Linked DNA regions of Homo sapiens: all the other regions are linked to region 1. The links are contacts of gene promoters, found by promoter capture Hi-C in human tissues and cell types (Jung and others, 2019). All regions are on one chromosome and are shown on one strand. The core of a region is centred on a gene start or on the middle of the fragment in contact, and the rest is flanking DNA. Distances in the headings are between cores, read along the strand shown.

Region 1 (3,980 bases), core at 757-3,256:
TCCGTATTGTGCTTGTACCAAATGGGGTTGGCCTGGGTTTGCAGGCAGCTGGGGTCTCATTTCTTTAATTAAAATTGCAGACATATCCTCTAGTAACGTAATGTAATCCGAGGGCAAGAAAAGAGAAACCCTGAAACCCGAAAGTGGCTAGCCGAGGGCCGGCGGGGGTTAGGCCAGCCGCTCAGCCCCGCCGCCCCAGCTCCCCAGCCCCGCAGCCCGCGGGGGAGCGGGCGCGTTATTTCAATTTGCCAGGCTTCTGAAGCGAAGAGGCTGCCCTGAAAAAGCAAACATGAGAGAGGACGGGGTGCAGGTAAATATCATTAACGTGAAAATCTGCTACCCCAGCCAAGTTCACCACCAGTATTCACCCCTACAGGCGGGGCCGCTCGGACCCTGCTCCCGGCTCCGCGCCTGCCACTCCCTTTCCCGCGCAGCCGAGATGCCAGCCCCAGTGGGCCTGGCGGGGAGTCCGGCGGGGTCCGGACCGGGCGGCTCGACCCCCGGTCCCCACGGCAGGAACGACTCAGCCTCGCACCTCGGGAGCTGTAGGTGCCGAAAACGAAACCCGCGGGGGCAGCGCACGCCGCGCGAGTCTCGGTCCGGCGGCAACCCAGATAGCGATTCAGGGGCTTTATTCTTTTGATGGTGATTAAAAAAATATATTCTATTTGAACCCGTAAAGCAGACGAGGGCAAATCAAGCCATCCCCCGCGCTGGCTCACCGGCCACCGCGCCCAGCGCCTTCCTCCCCCTCCGGCGGGCGAGCGGGCAGGGGCGCCCGACTCCTACCTTCCTCCCGCCAGCCACCGGGGGACCAGCCGCGCTCTCCGGGGCGGGGGAGGCCGCCCGGGACGGGGACCCCCACCTTCCGCCTTCGGAAGCGGGTTGGGGCGGGGGTCGGACCCCGAGTCTCTACTCCCCGTCCCTCTGCCCCCCGGCGCGGCCCGACAGCTCCCAGCCCCATCCTGGCAGGTGGCTTGGGTGGCGGTAGATGCCGGGCGGGAGGAAGATGTGGGGCTGCTCTGGCAGGTTGGGGGTGCGAGGAGGAAAAAAAAACAGAGAAAGACACACACAGAGAGACAGGGAGAGAGCGCGCGCGAGAGAGCTCTTGTCTATAGATTTATCCACATAATATATATTTATGTAGCTTTTTTTCTCTCGACACTGATGAATGCGCGCTCGGATCCCCGGGCGGACTCCCTCCAAGCCGGCTCGCTTTTCTAGTCTAAATAAATAAATAAAGCCAGATGGAAGAAAAAAGCGCCCATTCCACCTCCGCCGCCGCCCCGCCCGCCATCCCTGCCTTTGCTTCGCCCGCCTGGCGCCCTAATAGAGCATAGCTTGGTGGATAAAGCCCCCCTACATACCCACACGAAAATAAAAATCACTATTTTTAAAATACAAAAAGTTGCACCTGCTGCTATTACAAAAAGAACCCCCAAAAGGCAAAGAGAGGAGGCCGGCTGCCCGGCTCCTCACGGACACCCGCTCCCCGCGGCCGCCGGGCCCGGAATCTCAGCGCCTCCCGAAGAGCCATGCGCCTGGCGCTATTTATAGCCGGGGGCCGTCTCGGACTGTACCATCGCCACGGCGCGGGGCCGCCGACGGGGGAGGCGCGGTGGCCGCCGCCCCACGCCGCCCTGCCCCCGGCCGCCGCCCGCCGTGGCGCGGGCCCCCACAGCGCGCCCATTCCCGGCCCCCCGCGCCCTCCTCCGCGCGCGCACACTCGCCACCCCCACCCCTGGTCTGGCTGGGAACTTGAACCGGTCCAGCCTGTTTAAACGGAAAGGACAGAGATCCTGTCTGTTCAATGTAAAAAAAAAAAAAAAAAAAAAAAAAAGAAAAAAAGAAAAAAAAAATCAGATCAGACCGAGAGAGAGAGGAGAGAGGGAGAGAGAGAGGGAGAGAGAGAGGGAGAGAGAGAGGAGAGGGAGGGAGGGAGAGAGAGAGGGGGGAGAGCAGAGAGAGAGCGCGAGCGCGAGCGAGCGAGAGAAGAGGAGAAAGAGAGAGAGCAGAGAGCGAGCGGAGAGCGAGGTGTAGAGAAACCGAGGGGGAGAGAACCCGAGTGTGTGTATGCGTGTGCGTGTGTGAGCGCGAGCGAGCGAGAGAGAGGAGCGAGAGAGTGTGAGCGAGAAAGAATAAAAGGAAAGAAGATTTTCTCTATGTATATAAAGATGGCCACGTTAGCAAACGGACAGGCTGACAACGCAAGCCTCAGTACCAACGGGCTCGGCAGCAGCCCGGGCAGTGCCGGGCACATGAACGGATTAAGCCACAGCCCGGGGAACCCGTCGACCATTCCCATGAAGGACCACGATGCCATCAAGCTGTTCATTGGGCAGATCCCCCGCAACCTGGATGAGAAGGACCTCAAGCCCCTCTTCGAGGAGTTTGGCAAAATCTACGAGCTTACGGTTCTGAAGGACAGGTTCACAGGCATGCACAAAGGTGAGTACACCTTTCCCTCCCAACTTTGCCGGGGAGCAGGAGCGGGCTGGCGGGCCGACCGGCCGGCCGGCGACTGACGAGCGGCGGACTAAGCGAGAGGAAGCCTCGGGCGGGCGCGGTGGAGGGAGGCGCTCGGGCAGCGGAGACCAGAGCTGGGGTGCGTGGGGAGCTGTTCGCTGGGGCAAGACTGGGTTTTGGGCGAGGTGCTGATAGGAACGATGCCATGGAGAGAGCAGCGGGCGCCGATGAAGAGAAAGAGAGAGGGGATCGAGGAGACGGGGCTTGGATTTTTGGGTACAGCGACCTGAAAGATGGGGATGGGGAAGGCTGCACCGGTCGAGCCCAGGACGCTGAGCGGACGGACTCGCGGGCTCCTGGCCGGCCGAGGACCGAGGGTGCTGTCCATCGCCGTGGTGCTGAAAATACTAAAGGAGGTGGTCTCCTCATCCTTTGCTCCGGGCTAGAGTAGCAGGAGCGCAGCCGTCTAAAAGGGAGAGAGGTGACAAATTCAAAGAGAAATTTTTATTTAAATGTAACAGTAAACTCTCCCTGTCGAGCTGTGTGCCTCAATAATCTGATTGTGGTGTGAATGGTGGTGTGTGTTGGGGGTGGGGGGGTTGGATGTTTGAAGGAACCAGTGATAAAACCTAAGGCAAGAATTAGCAAGGAACCAGCCATCCCCTGGGTGGAGTGGGGGGTCTGGCAAGCCTGGATAGTCCCCTTCCCAGGAAAGCGGGGCTTTGGGAAAAAAATATGTGTGTGCGAGATTTGCATTTTGAAAGGTGTACCCTAATTTATCCCAAACTCACCATGCAGAGAGCTTTATAGTACATTATTTCTCCCTTGAAGCGATCATTGCCAGTGAGTGCTTGGGGGAGGGGGAGACAGAATAATCAAAGAATTAAAACACAGCAACTTTTTAGGAAAGTGGTCATGGGAATTGTCCGCAGCCTGCCTGTTTTCTCCTTGTTTTATTATCTTTAAAGCAGAGCCCCAAACGTGTTCAGTTGTAGAATGTGTGTGGGTGGCTGGTGGGTGACGAAATTAGCCCAGTGCTCCGCTTCCTAACAGTAATATATAGGATGTGCAGCGGGAATGAATCGGTGCTGGATCTATGTGGGCAAGTTAAATGCTTTCTGAGAGAGATTGATCGCCAGGCAGGGAAGGAGCACGGGGCTAAGGAAGTTGTAGGGGATGTGTATGGATGTTCCGTTTTTAATAAACAGTAGTGTGGAGAGCCGCCGAAGATGCTGTTACAGCTGGTGGTTTTAAAGATGAAAACACACGCACACCCACCCCCACATAGAGAGCAGCCTCATCCTTGGCCACAAATGGGCTATGGACACAGCTGATCCTCCAGCACATTAGGTGCAGAGCGCAGAGCTGTCTGGCTCTCTAAGCAGCAGCGATTTTCACTATCACAACCACCCTCTTTCTCCAGCCCTCCCTTCGTTCGAATACTAAACAGAGCTCCAAACTCTTCATAGTTGGAGTCCCAGAGAGCAGTTTTTATTGGCTTTAGTATCTTCCAG
Region 2 (3,980 bases), core at 764-3,263, 1.0 Mb before region 1:
AATTACTCTCCAATCAGGTCCAACATAAGCCTTAATATCTTTTCTGCTTAATAGTGTTAGAGTTTGGGGATTAGAGTTTTTCCTGTGGACTGACATTTGTAGGCGAAACTAACCAGGTGGCCATTATATCTATAGCCAGGAATTAATGTGCAGCAGTCAGTGAACTTGCCTTACTGCAAAACAAAAGCCTTCTGAAATAATTGGCTTCTTGCTGCAGCTCTGCCACAACAGGTAGACAGGGAGGCATATGGGAATTGGTAAGCTTGGGAACACAGACACTCCTCTCCTAGTGTGGCATTATTCATGTGCCCTGAACCTTCTATTCAGAATATTGGGTGATAGTTCAGGAAGATAATGGCCTCTGCCCAGGATCTGAATTCCTGGAGGACAAGAGGCAGTAGCACAGGGACTTCATTATAAGTTGGTCCTCCTGTAAGTTGCTGCAGCATGGAATTGGGAAAACCTTCCACAAAATTGACAGTGAGTTTAGTTCATAGCTTGAAACCATGTTCAAAATACACCCCAACTGGATCATTTATACAGTCTGTCTGTAATGGATATAAAGCGTGGGCCATACATCCTGAATTATCTTAATGTCAATATTATTTTCTATGAATTCTATAAGCCATGATATGCCCTATAAATTTAATTGGGATGTTGCACTTTAAAGAGTGGCCTTTAGCAATGGGAAGGGGCACAAAATCATTAATAAGATCACATGTCCAAATATCAAATGTAGACAGCATGGCTAACTGAATTATTGGCATCATGTAAGGCTTTTTAAATATAAAAGTCTAGTTAGGGAGACAATCCTAAAACATTGAAAGCTAAAAGACAATTAAGTATTACTAAGTGATTTAATGAGTTAGGTAAGACTGAAGGACTTCAAGGAGGGAAACATTAGCATGTGCTTTCATGGATGGTGAGCGCAAAAGGAGGAAAAGAAGATGGAAACTGCCACTCAGAGGCCTACTAAATGCTAAGTAGTCATCTAGGTGCTTGATGAGCATTATTATAATTGTACTTTTCCCAAGGTTACCCCAAATTTAAGTGATTTATTCTTTTCTGGAAATAAAAATACAGTCTTAAATCATGCTTGTAAATTTCAATTGGAGAAGTCTTTGTTCCACCAGAGTGCTTTAAAGATCTAACTGAAGGAAAAAGAAAATTGCGGGGGGAAAGAAAAAGGATGCATGGACGAGGCTTTATCAAAGGAGTTCAAATTTAACACATCGGGTTTTTCTAAGAATTCCTGGAAAAAAAGACTTTTACTCTATTTGAAGGAAAATTCTTGAAAACACTGTATCGCTTACTGCCTTGTATTCCACTTAATTTATTCTAATTTCAACAGCTCTACTTGTTTGTAAACTCCTTGATAGAAATAGCACTAGGATTAAAGTAAAGAAACTGTGAGGTCATTCTTTGCAGCCTCCCTTTATATGGATTTTTGGCCCTCTACCTTCACTTAAATATCTCTTAGGCTCTGCCTGAACACTGCCCCATTGTGGAATTCACTAGCCAATAAAGCAAACCATCCAAGTGCCTAAAGTTTGCTTTCAGAATGAGATCTCATCTTCCTGTTTATTATAGAATTTCACTTTAATGCAGCCACGAAATATCCCTAAAACTTTTTTTTTTCCAAAGCAGAATGTGCAGTTTTTTTTTGTTTTGTTTTGTTTTGTTTTGTTTTGTTTTTTTGCCATGCTATGATTGAGATCCTTTGATACCCTGATTATTTTTTTTTCTGGATAACTTCCAGTTTGCCAGTGTCCATATTTGACACACCCCAAAATAAATATAAACAAATGTTCCTACAAACAACACTAATCGTATTTTAGTGAAAACTGCCTAAGTGCTGGTCATTGTTTCCCCATGTTTACCATGTTAACATTTCCCAAAATGCCATAAATTAAGGTATTTGGGTCCTTATTTTTGGAGATGAGGGACATGAAGTTAAGCAAAAGGCCAAAACTCAGTTACTGGCCGAAGTAACACTAAAGCCAGGACCATGTTACTCTGGAGCCCATAAGCAGGGCTGGAAGCAGGCATATCCTGGTATAGTCTAACCTGTAAGGGTATATTTCTCATCTTCATACCCTCACAGCACCTTACTCAAGGCCTTGAATAATATATCATCTTGATTGAATGAATGAAAGTTTAAATAAATAACACCACCAGCAAAAACTGTCTCTTTATAACCACGAGTATGAAGAAAATTCAAGGAGATTTAAACAAACAAAGACTATCTTTATTACTGCCCTTCTACAGAATTTTATATTCAACTGCCTCCCTTAACACATCTGTTTAAACATATGTAAATTAAAGCTCCTGCTTTCTCCCCAAAACTCTTTTCCTAGTTTTTCACCAGAGATGCAACGTTATTCTCAAACGCTCCTCCCTTTTCTTTACCCTCCCTAACTAACACATCAGCCAACCCTGTCATTTCTCCTAAACCCATCACAAATCTGCCATCTTTTTGAATGTCCTCACTTCCACTACATTAGTCCGGACACCTCAACTCCCTTGGATGACGGCAAAACTCTAACTGTAACCTTCTGCTTTTCTGCCTGCCTTGAATTCTCATAAGTATTTATTTATAGATGTAAATTTGATTGGGCCATGCCCCTCAAACACCCAGAGTGACTGCATATGTTCTGTGACTCCAGCCCTCTTACCCAGTGATAGGGTCCTACATCTCACTCCAACTTTGTCTTGCAGCACTCTTCCTTTTTCTTGCTACCCTCTTATAATTTGCTCTTTCCATCCTTCTATTATGTCAAGGTTTCACCTGTCTCAGGGTTTCAGAGGCCTTCTCCTGATATTTACAATTGTTTGGTTCCTAACTTCAATGTTACCTTATTAATAAAATTTTTCTAGATTATCACATCTAAAATAAATTTTCCATTATTCTCTATCATCTCCTTTTTTTAATGATTGTAGTTCTTTTTAACTATATGGGATTTAATTTGCAGGCATTTGGTTTTTTGGTCTGTATCATTCATTGGAATACAAGCTTGAAGCAGAAAGGAATTATGTCTGAATTTCCATGAAATAGTGGTACATACTAGTCCCCTTTAGAAGTTACTTTCAGTATAGAGAAATCCACCTTGACACAATTGCTAAAGTCTTAGCTCTGCCCATTCAAGATTTCATTTTTTCTCCAGCAGAGTGCTGAGGGTAGAAGAAGACTTAATATTTTTTTGACCACATTTTCCAATATTCTTTAATCTCTGTATACATATTATTAAGGGGCTCATCTCCTGACCTTTGTGTGATGATGCTATTGCCTCTGGTCTATTGGCATGTCCTCTGCTACAGTTGGTGCCTCCACAGTGCCCATCATTGAAAACAAGAAGATCCCAGAAAGCATCATTATTAACTCACCACATTTATGGAGACCTACACTGGATCCTAGGTCAGAACCCCTGTGAAGCTGAATCACCTTTACTCTCCTAGAGACAGCAAGATTGTTCCCCTCCACTGTGAGATGGCATCCCTTCTTCTACGTTTCACCATTTCTGTTCACCTCAAGATTTCCCTCATACCCTGTTTGGCAATTTCTGGAGCTCCCAACATGACCAGTGTGAGGTAGGCAGACCAACTCTCCTCATTTTATTGGTCATCCTAGATAAATATTCATATCTGTAATATAGTTGTGTTAATTTACCTAAGTGTGCTAAAGGCAGTAATAAGTTAATTGCTGAAGAAAAGATTACATTTTAACAAGACCCATCTTCTCTAGATAACGACACAACTCAAAAGTTTAATAGTATGTACTTTGTACTTCAGCTGGTGGAGATGTTTTCGGAAATAAGAACTTTGATAGCCCAGAAATCCCACCTCATGGTCTCCACGTAATTTATGCACAGGGTCACAAATGGAACATTATTTTCTGCCATTTTATGTACAGCAAATGGAACCAGGTTCTGAATTTGCTTAATGTCAGTACTATAAACTCATATACATAAAAGGAAAACTTT
Region 3 (3,980 bases), core at 933-3,432, 1.0 Mb before region 1:
TAAAGAAATCATGTCATGTATCCTTTTGTAAAGCAAACAAAAATTACTTTTTAAAATAAATTATGATTTACATATATTAGATTTGATTAACATAAGACTCACAAAGCTTCTTGGCTATATATTAAAATTGGTCAATAGGAAGAATGGGAGATCAGTGGGCTGGGCACAGTGGCTCACGCCTGTAATCCCAGCACTTTAGGAGGCCAAGGCAGGCAGATTGCTTGAGATCAGGAGTTTGAGACCAGCCTGGCCAACATGGTGAAACCCCATTTCTACAAAAAAAATGCAAAAATTAGTCAGGCGTGGTGGCGGACATCTGCAGTCCCTGCTATTTGGGAGGCTGAGGCATAAGAATAGCTTGAACCCAGGAAGCAGAGGTTGTAGTGAGCTGAGATTGCACCGCTGCACACCAGCCTGGGTGACAGAGTGACGCTCTGTCAAAAAAAAAAAAAAAAAAAGAGAGAGAGAGAGACAGAGAAAGAGAAAAAAGAGAAAGAAAAAGAGAAGAAAAAGGAGATCTGGAAATTTCTTCCGGTATACTGTATAGAAACTAAGGTGTCATCACTTTGCCATTACAGATCATCACTGACTTCATAATGGTGTTATTGTTTTACCACTGAGGAAACTGAGGCTTACATTCTCTCAGTATTCTAAGCCTTACTTTACTCAGTTTTACGATAGAGTAGCAAACTAATAACCTCTAAAATCCTTTCTAGTTTTGATTTCTTTGGATTAGCTTCTCAAGGATACTTTCCAATCACTTCAAGCAGCAGTGCTGTGTCTCAGGCTGATATTCACTCTTCTTTATGATCACCAAGGTAATCAAATATAGATTTCTAACAATTTACTTTATTTCTTTGACCCACTGTTATAGACCCTTATAAAAAATATCTTTAGAGGATGTGTGAGCAAGGAGCTCTCCTGCCATTCTTCAGCATAGAAATCCTCCAAAACTAGGCCAGTTTGCCAATCCCAGAGTGGCACTCCAGTGATTTTTCCTACTGTTCAGTATATAGATTAAACGAAGGTTAAAATATGCATATTACACATTTCATATGTATAATAGCTTATATAAACATATGCTACTTATGTGATGTACCAAAATACATTCAGAGGGAAGAGAAAGAAAAGAAGCAGATCAGGCCCTCTATATCTGTGAAGTGAATTGGGTTAGTAGAAACAGCTTCCTGCTTAAGGGTCACGTGACTGTTCACTGAACACAATGAGGTTAACAGACATCAGAGAAACCAGTCTACTCTTACTGCAAAGACTTTTTTTTTTAAACAACTTGGAGAAAAAGCGGTCTGGATATAGTTTAATAAACTTCATAAATGTCAAAGTTTTACCCACGCATTATTAAAAATCTTAATTCCTTTTTATGAGCCCTATTACCCATTATTCTCAGAATTGTGTCTTTTATCAGAAGCATCATTAAAGTGTTAAGAAAAAAATTGCTTTTCTGAAGAACCCATCCATTTGTATAACGCTAAAACTGATGTTGATATTCGCCTGTCCTCTTGTCCCTTGATATGGTTTGGCTGTGTGTCCCCACCCAAATCTCATGTTGAATTGTAATCCCTAAGTGCCAAGGGAGGGGCCTGGTGGGAGGTGATTGGATCATGGGGGTGGATTTCCCACTTGCTGTTCTCATGATAGTAACTCAGTTCTCATGAGATCTGATGGTTTAAAAGTGTGTGGCAGTTCCCTGCTTGCTTTCTCTCTCTCCTGCTTCACCATGGTGAGACATGCTTGTTTTCCTTTCACCTTCTGCCATGATTGTAAGTTTCCTGACCCTCCCAGTCATGTTTCCTGTACAGCTTGCAGAACTGTCAGTCAATTAAACTTCTTTTCTTCATAAGTTACCAAGTCTCAGGCAGTTCTTTATAGCAGTGTGTAAATGGGCTAATACATCCCTCATTTTGAATATCACATTTCATCAGTTCATCACGACATTTCTTAATGTGTCTACTTTATATAAACTTGGATCTCAAGTTTTGAGGATTACTGCTATTCTTATTAATAGATGTTGATCCTATTTTAAGGATCAATGTCTATAATACTAATGAGATTGCCCATATGACAAGTTTATTGTTATTCCCATTTTGCAGATTAAAAAAAAAATCTCTTCTCATGGCAGTTAAGTGACTTGCTTAAGTTTAGTAACCAAAAGAGAGTAAAGCTAAATTTCAAACGCAGGTCCAAATGTCCCCAAACTCTGCAATCTGACACATCATAGAATCATCTTCTGTAGGAAATGTGGGGCTTTTAAGGCCAGGGGCCATGGTAGAGTCAGTGTTTCTTCAAGTGCCTGGCTTGATGTCGGGCATATAGCACTTTCAGTTAAGCATGGCCTCCAGACACACTGCCTGTTTCACGTCTTTCTCTGTCCTGTCTAAGCATGGCTTACACATCTCAGTCATTATCAAGCAATGACTGCCTCAACCTCCCCTTAGTCATCTCAATGCCCTTTTCTTAAAACTTCCCTAGTTACACCATGTTTATTTTGAGTACTGTGACTAGAACTGCAGGTGAGATCCAAGGAGATTCAGCACATCTTCATCTTAGCTTTGTGGTTTCTCTTTTCAGCACCTCACCAAAGGCAGAGGAAATGCTGACTTTACATTGACACAGACTTCAGAGAAACTTGACTGTTTAGTCAACAGGTTTGCCATAATGTGCACAGACCAATATTAGCAGCAAAATAAGAAAAAAAGGAAATGTTAAATAATTTATTATTTTATATTTTTGACTGCTATTCTATGTCATCTTCCTGGTAAACTAAATATTTCTTATTTTATTATTCTTTTCATGATGGAAAAGGTACCCATCTTGGCTTGTGTTAAAAAAAAATGGTTCACATGATTTTGAAGTTTGAAGGTAAATCTAGCATCAGGCATGATTTTGTCTAGAGGTCAAAAAGATAATGTCCGAGTTTCTTCTCTTCATTTCTTTAGCCTCAGTCTTTTTTAGTGTGTTTGACTCATTCTTTATAACTGCATATGATATCCTACAAGTGGCTGACTGCGGCCACAGAGGTGTTGGTGCTATTTCTGGGCCAAGGTGTGTATTGGATGTGGTCCCACCACACTCCTTGCTCTCTTGCCCCTCCCTCTGCCTGGGTGAAGCTAATAGAGAAGCCCTGAGGGATGGTGATACCACAAGCCGTCAAGAAACTCAGTTACTCAGTCATCAATGGAGGAAAACTTCAGGCTGACTAGCAACGCCTGCTTGAACGATTAAGACAGCAGGAGGCCGGGTGTGGTGGCTCATGCCTATAATCCCAGCATGTTGGGAGGCCGAGGTGAGTGGATCACCTGACATCAGGAGTTCAAGACCAGCCTGACCAACAAGGTAAAACCCTGTCTCTACTAAAAACACAAAAAATTAGCCTGGTGTGATGGCAGGTGCCTGTAGTCCCACCTACTCGGGAGGCTGAGACAGGAGAATTGCTTGAACCCAGGAGGCGGAGGTTGCAGTGAGCCAAGATCACACCACTGTACTCCAGCCTGGGCGACAGAGCAGGACTCTGTCTTAAAAAAAAAAAAAAAAGTTACAAGAAATAATCTTTAAATTATTATATATTTTAGAGTTTGTGTTATTATGTATGTTGCAGCTAACCGAATCCCAACAAACATTCTGGAATATATGGCCAACAGATAATTTCAGTTTACATTATTCATAAGGTCTACACAGATTATTATTATTATTATTCATAAGGTCCACACACAAAAAGGAGCATATTTTGGGATAACTTTTCCTGGAAATAGTGAAGGGGTATTAAAGATAAAAGGCATCTCTAATATACAAAAAGAATAGATGTTTTCAGAACTTGATTTGATTGGCATATAAACCAATATTGTGATTAAAGGAATGTCTTAAAATGTAGACTTTTGAGCCAAACCCTACAGATCCTGATTCAGATGGTTTGAGACGTGAATCTACATTTTAAAAATTCCCATGGGATATCTGAATACAAGTAT

The links. Contacts are between HindIII fragments. The study calls those that stand out against the background at their distance.
Region 2: a contact is called between a fragment that was not itself captured here and the fragment with the promoter of CELF4 in region 1, in 1 of the 25 tissues and cell types used here (dorsolateral prefrontal cortex).
Region 3: a contact is called between a fragment that was not itself captured here and the fragment with the promoter of CELF4 in region 1, in 1 of the 25 tissues and cell types used here (dorsolateral prefrontal cortex).

The regions. Positions count from the first base shown.
Region 1 is chr18:37,563,824-37,567,803 of GRCh38, reverse strand. It overlaps CELF4 (CUGBP Elav-like family member 4), which reads left to right and starts at 2,006. Exons shown (of 13, transcript NM_020180.4): 1 at 2,006-2,448. The coding sequence starts at 2,163. LOC124904288 (a long non-coding RNA gene) reads right to left here and starts at 1,527. Exons shown (of 2, transcript XR_007066345.1): 1 at 1,415-1,527; 2 at 1,116-1,225. RefSeq lists an enhancer at 1,959-2,462. The HindIII fragment of the contact is 29,207 bases long and covers 1-3,980 here.
Region 2 is chr18:38,593,978-38,597,957 of GRCh38, reverse strand. No RefSeq gene overlaps it. Among named protein-coding and RNA genes, the nearest start is that of MIR4318, 940 kb to the right of the region's middle. The HindIII fragment of the contact is 5,190 bases long and covers 1-3,980 here.
Region 3 is chr18:38,574,338-38,578,317 of GRCh38, reverse strand. LOC112268212 (a long non-coding RNA gene) reads left to right here and starts at 648. Exons shown (of 3, transcript XR_002958210.1): 1 at 648-818; 2 at 2,587-3,351. The HindIII fragment of the contact is 5,644 bases long and covers 1-3,980 here.